3 separate regions of the Homo sapiens genome follow, and regions 1 and 3 are each linked to region 2. The links are contacts of gene promoters, found by promoter capture Hi-C in human tissues and cell types (Jung and others, 2019). All regions are on one chromosome and are shown on one strand. Each heading gives the region's core, a stretch centred on a gene start or on the middle of the fragment in contact. The rest is flanking DNA. Distances are from core to core; before and after follow the strand shown. Region 1 has its middle 42 kb from the start of RORA. Region 2 holds the start of RORA (RAR related orphan receptor A). Region 3 overlaps RORA (RAR related orphan receptor A).

The links. Contacts are between HindIII fragments. The study calls those that stand out against the background at their distance.
Region 1: a fragment that was not itself captured here is called in contact with the fragment with the promoter of RORA in region 2 in 1 of the 25 tissues and cell types used here (liver).
Region 3: a fragment that was not itself captured here is called in contact with the fragment with the promoter of RORA in region 2 in 1 of the 25 tissues and cell types used here (stomach).

What each region holds. Positions count from the first base shown.
Region 1 is chr15:61,269,847-61,272,811 of GRCh38, reverse strand. No RefSeq gene overlaps it. Among named protein-coding and RNA genes, the nearest start is that of RORA, 42 kb to the right of the region's middle. The HindIII fragment of the contact is 7,673 bases long and covers 1-2,965 here.
Region 2 is chr15:61,227,685-61,230,874 of GRCh38, reverse strand. It overlaps RORA (RAR related orphan receptor A), which reads left to right and starts at 1,573. Exons shown (of 11, transcript NM_134261.3): 1 at 1,573-1,822. The coding sequence starts at 1,657. The HindIII fragment of the contact is 14,135 bases long and covers 1-3,190 here.
Region 3 is chr15:61,189,157-61,192,383 of GRCh38, reverse strand. All of the region lies in intron 1 of RORA (RAR related orphan receptor A), which reads left to right. It overlaps LOC105370841 (a long non-coding RNA gene), which reads left to right. Exons shown (of 2, transcript XR_007064661.1): 2 at 1-3,227. Among named protein-coding and RNA genes, the nearest start is that of RORA, 39 kb to the left of the region's middle. The HindIII fragment of the contact is 3,527 bases long and covers 1-3,227 here.

The DNA.
Region 1 (2,965 bases), core at 109-2,608, 42 kb before region 2:
GAGGCAATTAGCAAGTTAATGCTGCCCCCCCCCCCCATAAAACCAAAACAAAACAAAAAAATGCTGCCTAAAATGTCTAGAAGTCTGTAGCAATGTTTGTTTAACCTGAATTTTCTAAAAGATTTTTAGAATGTTAAACATTTCTCACTTTGTTCACGGTCACCTCTTAAAAGCAATGGGCAAAAAATGTAGAGTTTGGGTCAGACATTTGCGGGTTAGAATTCTGCGTTTGAAACTTACAAGTCACTCAACCCTCAAGGCATTCATTTCCCCATTTGTAGAATGTAGAGGAAGCATTAATGCATGGTAGAATTATGCACATGAGGAACCATAAAAATGTGGAGGAATCACTAATGCATATCAGAATTACATACATGGAAAGTGTAGCCCACTGTACACTAAACCCTTAATTGAACATGAATGAAAATAACCTAGTAGGTTGTAACTAAGTTTTATTTATGTCTTTAAATTTCTGACCATTCACCAGGATATAACTCTTGCTAAATAAGAGTAATATTGGCCTTCTTGCTTCCTATAATGGAAAGAAGAAGAATATCTATGCAAGAAATAATAATAACAAAGTGCAAGATATTGCTGGCTGTGCTGTGTGTGATAGAGGATAAAATAAGTGATTGATTTTTCACGAGACGACTGTGCTGTTTTGGGTATGTGTACATATGGGCATGCCATTTCTTTTATTTGCTCCTTGTTCTTTTTCACCTAGACCAGGGCATCTCAAACACTAATGTGCATATGAATCATCTGGACATCTTGTTAAAATGCGGATTCTGGGTCTGTAGGTCTGGGGTGGTGCCTGAGAGTCTGCGTTTCCAGCAAGCTCTCAGGTGATGCTGGTGTTGCTTGTCTGTAGATCACACTTTGATTCAAAGGGCCTAGGTTCTCATTTTCAGTCTTCAAAACCCAGCCCCTGGGTTCTTCCCTCCAGGAAGCCTTTTCTAACCTCGACACTGTCTCAGTCTTCAGTAAATATGCTAAGCAATTAAAACTGCAAGGCAACTCCTAGGCCCACCATATAAAATACAAGATTCCCAGTTAAATTTGAGTTTCAGAAAAAAAAAAAAAAAACAACTTAGACTATTGCATGGGATATACTTATGCTAAAAATCTATCTGTTGTTTATCTGAACTGCAAATTTACCTTGGTGTTCTCTAGTTTTATTTGCTAAGTCTGGCAACCCTACCTGCTACCCACCCATCCTGCCCCATTCCCAGCACATACAATTAGATTGCTGTCCCTGAACCTCTTTTAACCAGAAATTCCAGGGCAGGCACTGCCTCACAGACCCTTGTTTATGTCACTGTGGTAACCTGGGGCTGCTTCTAACTTTTCAGTAACTTCACAGAGATAAGCTCATTGTTGATGACAGGTCTTTTTCCTATTGGACTGTGAGCTACTTGGGAGTAAGGACTACATCTTCACCTGTGTCTCCCCTGTTTCTAGCAGAGTAAAATATGCACAGTAAATATTTGCCAAGTTGAACTGAGCTGAATTAGCTCAGATCCTGATTCGGCTGCTTTGGTTGATGGTAGAAAACGGCTTTGGCAGAGGTTGAAGGACCTTGAGGCTTTGGAAACAGGGGTAGGTCTGGGGTCAAAAAGAAACATGTTAATCTTTTCAGCAAAGATCTTGGTTCTTTAAAAAAAACTAATTAATCCAATCAAGGAATATTTGTCTACATATTAGCATCAAACTCTCTCTTAATTTCAACTAGAATAAGTACATACTCTACCATGCCCAAAATAAATTGCCCCACCTCTCCATATGACTTTTCTTCTAAAGGTTCATCTCCTACCTTTCTCTTTACTTGCCTGAGGACTAAAATCACATTCACTTAGATTAACATCATGTGGCACTTACTTTTTCTTCCTCAGTGATCTGCAATGGAGATTCGGTGGGTCTTACAGAATAGAACTAAATTTAAGGATATTGGGTCTTAAAATGTCTCCTGATGGATATTGGCCAAAGTGGCTTTCACCAATCCCTCCACAAATGTATGTTTGATTGCTTCTTTGCTAAATACTAAAGAGTCTTTGATTGTGTCCTGAAAGATGTAATCATTTTCAAATGTGCTTTCAACATTCAGCAGTTAAGCTTCACAGGGTGGAGTATAACTCCAAGGCCTATGTCTTCATGAAAGTTACTGGTACCCAAGTCAACATTTGGACCGCTTGTGTTTTCAGGAAGGGAGGACTCAAAAGCCCCTGCTTATCTCTAAAGCTGTCTGTATCATTCAGCCAAATGGAACTGCGATGAGGTTGTACTATGTGGCCACTCTAATGTTCTCCTTCATGGAAGCTGACATAGGGGACTTTTTGCCTCCAAAACCACACTGAGTCATGGAAGGCCTGTCACTAGCAGCAATTTTATTTTAATTCATTATTCAACATTTACACAAGCTTAGGCTTCATTTGGTATATGTAATAGCTAGCAAGCCAAGTTTCTTTTATGAAAACCGAGAATCCAAACAAAGAGTAATTACTCTGAGAAGGGAAAACCACTGTCAGTCAAATAGTGCCACTCTAAATATTGACACTGTATACTTTCTGCTCCAGGTTAACCAGTTAGAGCCCACTGGCCTGCAAGTATAATGCTACCTCTGGAACAAAAACTACATACAAAGATGAAGGTAAGGTATTTGATATAGGAAAATAATAGGGGAAAACTTGAAAGTCTGCGCAGCAACACAGGAAGCAGAAATGAAATGGTCAAAGTGATGAGGGAAGAAAGGAGAGTGCAGACCACATTTACAAGTTACAATAATCATAGCCACCATTAACTGGTACCTTTTAGCTACCTGCCCCCATGCTAAGCGCTTTATATGTGTTAGCTTATTTAGTACTCACACATACACACAAAGTATTTGGAGAAGTTGCATAATGCCCATTTTGCCCCACTGTCCCTGAGGTCTACATTAGCAGCTATTAACAGAGTAGAGGTCTTTGAG
Region 2 (3,190 bases), core at 324-2,823:
ACATCACCCCGAAGAGTGGACCACAGGTTTTGCTGATTAGTACACAGACTATGGCAAAGGGCATTGTGTATTTGAAATAAGATCAAGATCAGTAACAGTAACAGAAACTATGTGTGAAATTTGGCATATGGCGGTTCCTCTGAAGGATTAGCTAACTGGGTTTCCCGCACTTACTATTTTTTAAAGCATTTTTCCAAACCAGGAAGTTAGCAAAAGAAAAATGTCCCCCAATTCCCTCCGCCTACCCCACGTTCTGAAGCACATATATTTATGCCACCTTCTGGCCTCTAATAATATTATTTATTGTCAAAATTTTGGATCCTTTTGAAAGGAAGGTGGGGCGTATTTCCACAGTGTCTTCGCAGGCAAAAGAAAGTGGTAGATTGAGTATGAAGGCAGACAAATCAGGCTACTACCATTGGAGTATTTTCCATTCTTTCAATTTGTATTGTTCCTTCATCTTGGAGTTTGCAGTCAAGGTAACGATGATGCAATTATCTGCTTTCCTGGAGTTTTAGGTACCTACTAGGGGATGAATGTATTTCAATGGGAGGAGGGTGTAGAATGATGCCTATAATAATACGAATTATTAGGAGCTGTTAATTATCTGAATGTTATCCGGGCATTAGTAATGCCTCTCCAGTATATCTACCTTTTATGGATGAGACTGTACATTTAATAGGAAAAGTACCAGTGGGAATTGACAATTAGCAGCCACGCTTGAGCTAGATGCAGCGTGGCATGTTTTATCCAGCTTAGATAGTTGTCGACCAAACAGGCCAAAGTTTTCTTCAGTAGAAAATGCCCTGCCAAATGGTTTCTGGATCCTTCGCGGACAAACAGCAAAGGAGCTGAAAGCGACCTCTTTCAACCATGCCAGAAACTGTCCATGGCGCTTCTAGATTCACAAAATCTGTTTTAGACACAGATGTCTTTAACCAAGATTGGAAACCCACTGGCCGTCCCATCCCAAAGTAAAAAGTGCCACGTCCTCCCATCCTCCGCCTTCCTTGGGATGTCAGCCCCGTTCTAATTCCTTTTTAGTTTCTCCTCAGCCCTCGGCAGGGCTGGCAGGGGGCTACCTGCGATTTCCCAACGTGGACGTGGACAATCGGATTTGTCTCTACCCAAGCTGGCAGCGGATGGGGACGAGTTCTGTTCCCGAGAGAGTCTCAGAAGTAGGCACGGAATCATCTCACCGATTTTAATTTCTGTCCCTGGGCTGGGGAGAGGGGAGGATTGGGGCGCGGGAGGCTCTGTTCTCCTCCTCCCCTCTTTTCCCCACCTCCCAAAATTGGCAGCCAGTCTGTGGCTCTCGGTCTGGGGTCTGGAGGGTGGGGAATGTGGGTGTGGGGGCCGGCTGGAGAAGCTCTCGCTAGCGCTGCCTGTGGCCAGACCCGCCTCTTGTCCCCTTTCGGGCGCACACACACGTCCACCCAGACACTCCGCGCGCTCCCTCGCGCTTTTGCTTGCCCGCCCGCCGCCGCCTGCTTTTTCCCTCCTGCTTTCGCCGGTCGCCTTCTCCTTCTTTTTTTTTTTTTTTTTTTTTTTTTTTTTTTTTTTTTTTTTTTGGTACCATAGAGTTGCTCTGAAAACAGAAGATAGAGGGAGTCTCGGAGCTCGCCATCTCCAGCGATCTCTACATTGGGAAAAAACATGGAGTCAGCTCCGGCAGCCCCCGACCCCGCCGCCAGCGAGCCAGGCAGCAGCGGCGCGGACGCGGCCGCCGGCTCCAGGGAGACCCCGCTGAACCAGGAATCCGCCCGCAAGAGCGAGCCGCCTGCCCCGGTGCGCAGACAGAGCTATTCCAGCACCAGCAGAGGTAGGAGGCTGGAGAGGGGCTGGGGAGGGGGCGGCGGGAGCCCGGGCGCGGAGCGGGGGGCGGCCGGGAGCGGGCGCCCGGGGCGCGGGGTCCGGCGGCCGCGCGCGAGCCTGCGGCGGCGCCCCGAGCCCGGAGGACCCCCCTCCCCTCCCCCCTCCGCCCCCCAGAAATGTTGCAAACTTTTGCAGCCCGTTCTCGGCTTGCGGGAGCAGAGTGGGGCGGGGGAGGCGGCGGGAAGGTTGACAGCCGGCGGGCTCACCCCCCTGGCTTTGATTTTTCTGCAAACACTGGAGGAAAGCTGCGTTGCCTCAATTAAATACGCTCCCCCAAAATACGGAGATGCGGGGAGTGGGGGCCCGGGAAAGAAACTTTTAAAGCGGCAGTGTCCTTTTAAGAAGGGGCAAAAAAATCTGTTTATGGCCACCCTCCTTCCGCTTTACCTTTTCTCCTCTTGACAGTTTCGGCCCTGGCTGCCCGAGTCGGGGGTGTGTTTTCGGTCCCTCTCAGATCTGGGCGGGGGGCGGGAGGAGTGAGCGACCTGGGAAGTCCCGGGGGTGGAGAGGGGGCGCTCCGGGGTCTGGGGGCGACGTGGACACCTTCTTTGGAGCACGGCGGTGCGTTTGGGATTTGAAGGAAGGGCCGAAGGAAGCGGGGTGCGGGCGGGCGAGCTGTTCGCCAAGTTGTCTGGCGGGCGCGGCGAGGGGAGATGCGCAAGTTTGCAGACCGGGGGTTCGGAGCCCGGCGCCCAGGCTGGCGGGGGGCGTGTGCGCGCCAACGCGCAGAGGGCGGCGGTCCTGTGGGGCGCTCCACGCGCATCCGGAGGGAGCGTCTACAAAAGCAAGCACCGAAACTTATTTCTGCTCTGGGAATCCTTCCCTCTCGGAGGTTCCAAGCATTTCTGCAGGAACCTGGGGATGGTCAGTGCAAGTTGTATGCTGGTTGGATAGTGCAAGCAATGTTTTCTCCTCCCCTGGCGATTTTTACTCTTCATTTTGGTGTTTGGTCTGTGTCTGCGTGTGTTGGGGGGGATGGGGGGGACTCAGTTGCTCCCTCCTTTCCTAAAGTGAGCTGTTGAGGAAAGCTCACTCTTTCTTGAAGGTATTGGAACCTGATGTGTGTTTTTCTCGAGAGTGGGGGATTATTTATTTGAATGCGCCTGGAGTTTGCAAAGAACAGGAGGAAGCTACAGCTTTAATTACTGTTGTAAATAATGTATAAATCGCGCCTGTCACTCCGGAGGAAGCGTGCTCGCGCGAGCCGCCTGGAGCTGGGGACGGAGAGGATTTCTCCAGCCCCGGCTTGGGTACCGGCCCAGCGCGCCCCCTCCTCTTGCACTCGGCTTCTGGCGGCGGTTGGGGAGGGCTGGGT
Region 3 (3,227 bases), core at 331-2,830, 38 kb after region 2:
CTCTACTCTGGGTAGAGTATGCTGGATCCCTTGTAGCCTGGTTAGGAAACTGGCAATCCAGAGTAATTTGCCTTTAGGCATAAGCCAGTACAACATGTCACTTTTAAAATAAAACACATTAATTTACAGAATGACTATTTTATAGCGAAGAGCAGCCTGTCTAAATGAGAGGAATTAAAGGCCAATGGTCAAGTCCTCCGCATTATTCACACCACCCTTCTCAATAAATCACAATTGCTGAAACTGCAGGTTGGCACTTACTTAAATAGCACCGTGTTGGTTAAGGGTGACATGTGCTGACACGACCTCTGTTTGCATGCAACATGCTCTATGGAGAGCTACCGCCTAAAATCTACACGTAGCTCTGTCAACCCAAGTACCTTGTGCACCATTAAGCAAGGTTTAGATTAAGCCTGGACAGCAGTTGTATCTTCATTCTAGGCAGGCTTTTCTTAGAGAAGCGAAGCTTGAATGGCAATAGTATTTGACATTCAGACCTATCCCACTCTACAGACCTAATTTTTAAATATTCCTGTTATTTTATAAACCATCAGATTTTCAGAACAGATGCGAGACTACAGAATGTGAGGACACAGAATCATAAATGAGCCCATTGGTACCTTGGGTCTTGCTGAAGCTTCCTTGATGGACAGAGTTGTCCTTGGATTACTATGTGTGCTGCGTCTGCATGAGTACCACTTTACTGTTCTTATTGTTTGGGAAGGGAGAACCAATAAGCAGTCAGTGTCTCAATTCCATTGGAAGGAACGATAGAGGGGAAGATGAATATTTTAAAGGTTGGCAATGTGTTTATCTGCAAAGCACTGGGCTTGACTAAAATGGTTTTGACACAGCCTAAGAAGTACAATAGCCAGCCTTGTGGTGTCCTGGGACACATCTAAATGAATGAGGAAGGGGCTGGTTGTGTGGTGGTGTCATCTTCCCATTTCACATTTCACTCTCAACTATTAGATGTGCCCTTGATCAGAACTGATTTCTTTCTTTTTTTTTTTTTTTTGCTACAAGGAGATGGCAGCCTAGGTGTGCTTTCCTTTAAAAAATGTCAGCTTGTGAAATAATAATACAGATGACAATTCCTGAGTGTGTACTCTGCCAAGAGTTGTACCAGAGGCTTCATGTGTAGTGTTTCCATTCCGCATGATGATGGTGCAAGGAAAGTGCAGCTATTCCTATCTTTAGATGAGGAAACAGAGGTTCAGAGCTTTGCCCAAATCCGTAACGGTGGAGCCAGCCTTTCAATACAAATCTCTTCTGTTTTAAAGACTATGTTGTTTCCACTATATAATGCTGCTTCCCACATGGAAATGTGAATGTATGAAAAATCTCCCTGATGCATTTAGTATTTTTTTTTTTGGACCATTTCCTCTCAGCTGAAAGGCTAAAAATCAGCTTACGAGCTACTAACGATCAGTAAGGTGTTTGTGTTTTGTTTAGTTTTTAAGGAAAGCCAGTGGGAAAATGAGATTCATATATATAAGCAAAAGCATTTATACTTTATATAAATATATATAAAACCATACACACACACACATACATGCAAGCATTCTGTAATATACCCACTGGGTGATATGTCAGTTCTCCTTTGAATTCTTTTTTTCTTTTCTTTTCTTTTTTTGAGACAGAGTCTTACTCTGTTACTCAGGCTGGAGTGCAGTGGTGCCATTTTGGCTCACTGCAGCTTCTGCCTCCCAGGCTCAAGAGATCCTCCTTACCTGAGCCTCCCTTAGCCTCCCATAGCCTCCCTTAGACTCCCATTGTATTTTTTGTAGAGATGGGGTTTCGCAATGTTGCCCAGGCTGGTCTCAAACTCCTGGGCTCAAGCGATTTGCCCACCTTGCCCTCCCAAAGTGCTGGAGTTATTGGCCTGAGCCACCCACCATGCCCAGCGTCCTTTGAACTCTTTATGTAATCTATCTCATGATTTTATTTTTTAGGAAAGCATCTTCTGATATTTAAAGGTAGGCCTCACTTTATGCAGGACATATATCACTTTAGTTTCTATGCAACATCATGCTTTCCATGCACCGTGTAAAACAATCAATTTTATAGAACTTATTGGTGTCCCTTTTGTTAATAGGAAAATGCCCCTTGTAAAGTCAGGTTTTATTTTTGTGTGTGTTTCCTAATTTTAGCTCTGAGCACACTGATGTTCTTACAGCAAGACACACTGATTTTTTTTTTTTCTGGACCAAATACTAATTGACGGAGAAAAGTAATTTTTATTGATAAGCATGAGAATTAGCCTCACCAGGCTTTTGGAGTTTGAGGAACAGATAAACTTTAAAAGATATAATGAGCTTCACTTCAGGCCAATAGATATAAATCTCATTTATTCTTTTTATTAAAAATTGCAAAATTTCACCTGGTGTAGACATGTATTAATTTATTCATCCCTATTGACAAACATGTAGGTTGTTTGCAGTTTGGTATTGTTTTTTTTCCATGATAAATAATGCTGGAATAATGATGGATATCTGTGGTTTTTTTTTTTTTTTTTTTTTTTTTTGAGACAGAGTCTCGCTCTGTCACCCAGGCTGGAGTGCGGTGGTGCAATCTCGGCTCACTGCAAGCTCCGCCTCCTGGGTTCATGCCATTCTCCTGCCTCAGCCTCCTGAGCAGCTGGGACAACAGGTGCCCGCCACCATTCCTGGCTAATTTTTTGTATTTTTAGTAGAGATGGGGTTTCACCGTGTTAGCCAGGATGGTCTTGATCTCCTGACCTCGTGATCTGCCTACCTCGGCCTCCCAAAATTTTGGGATTACAGGTGTGAGCCACCACACCTGGCCAGATATCTGTTCTGTCTTCAGCACCTGGGGCCCTGTGGAGGCTGCAGCCCTCCTTCTTGCTGGGATATTGACATTGTGCTGGCCCCACAGGGCTCCTTCTCCAGCCATCCTTTGAATCATCTACTGCAGAGCAGCTAGGAGGTGGGAAACCAGATAGACAGGCTGGAGAAGATCCTCTCAAAAACAAGAGCCCATAGCTGCCGAGTGGGAGCCAGCAAATAGAGTGCGTGGATACAGGCACTGGATGTTATTTATGTCTTTCTCCTTTGTCGTTCTCCATTATTTTACCATTAACCTTAAGAAGGCAAAGATCATCTCATGTTCATTTTTAAATCTTTTATAATGTCTATCATGAATGTAAAAATGCGTTTATTCAAGGGACATTTAAGGACTGTGTTAAACACTAAGGGGTCAAAGAT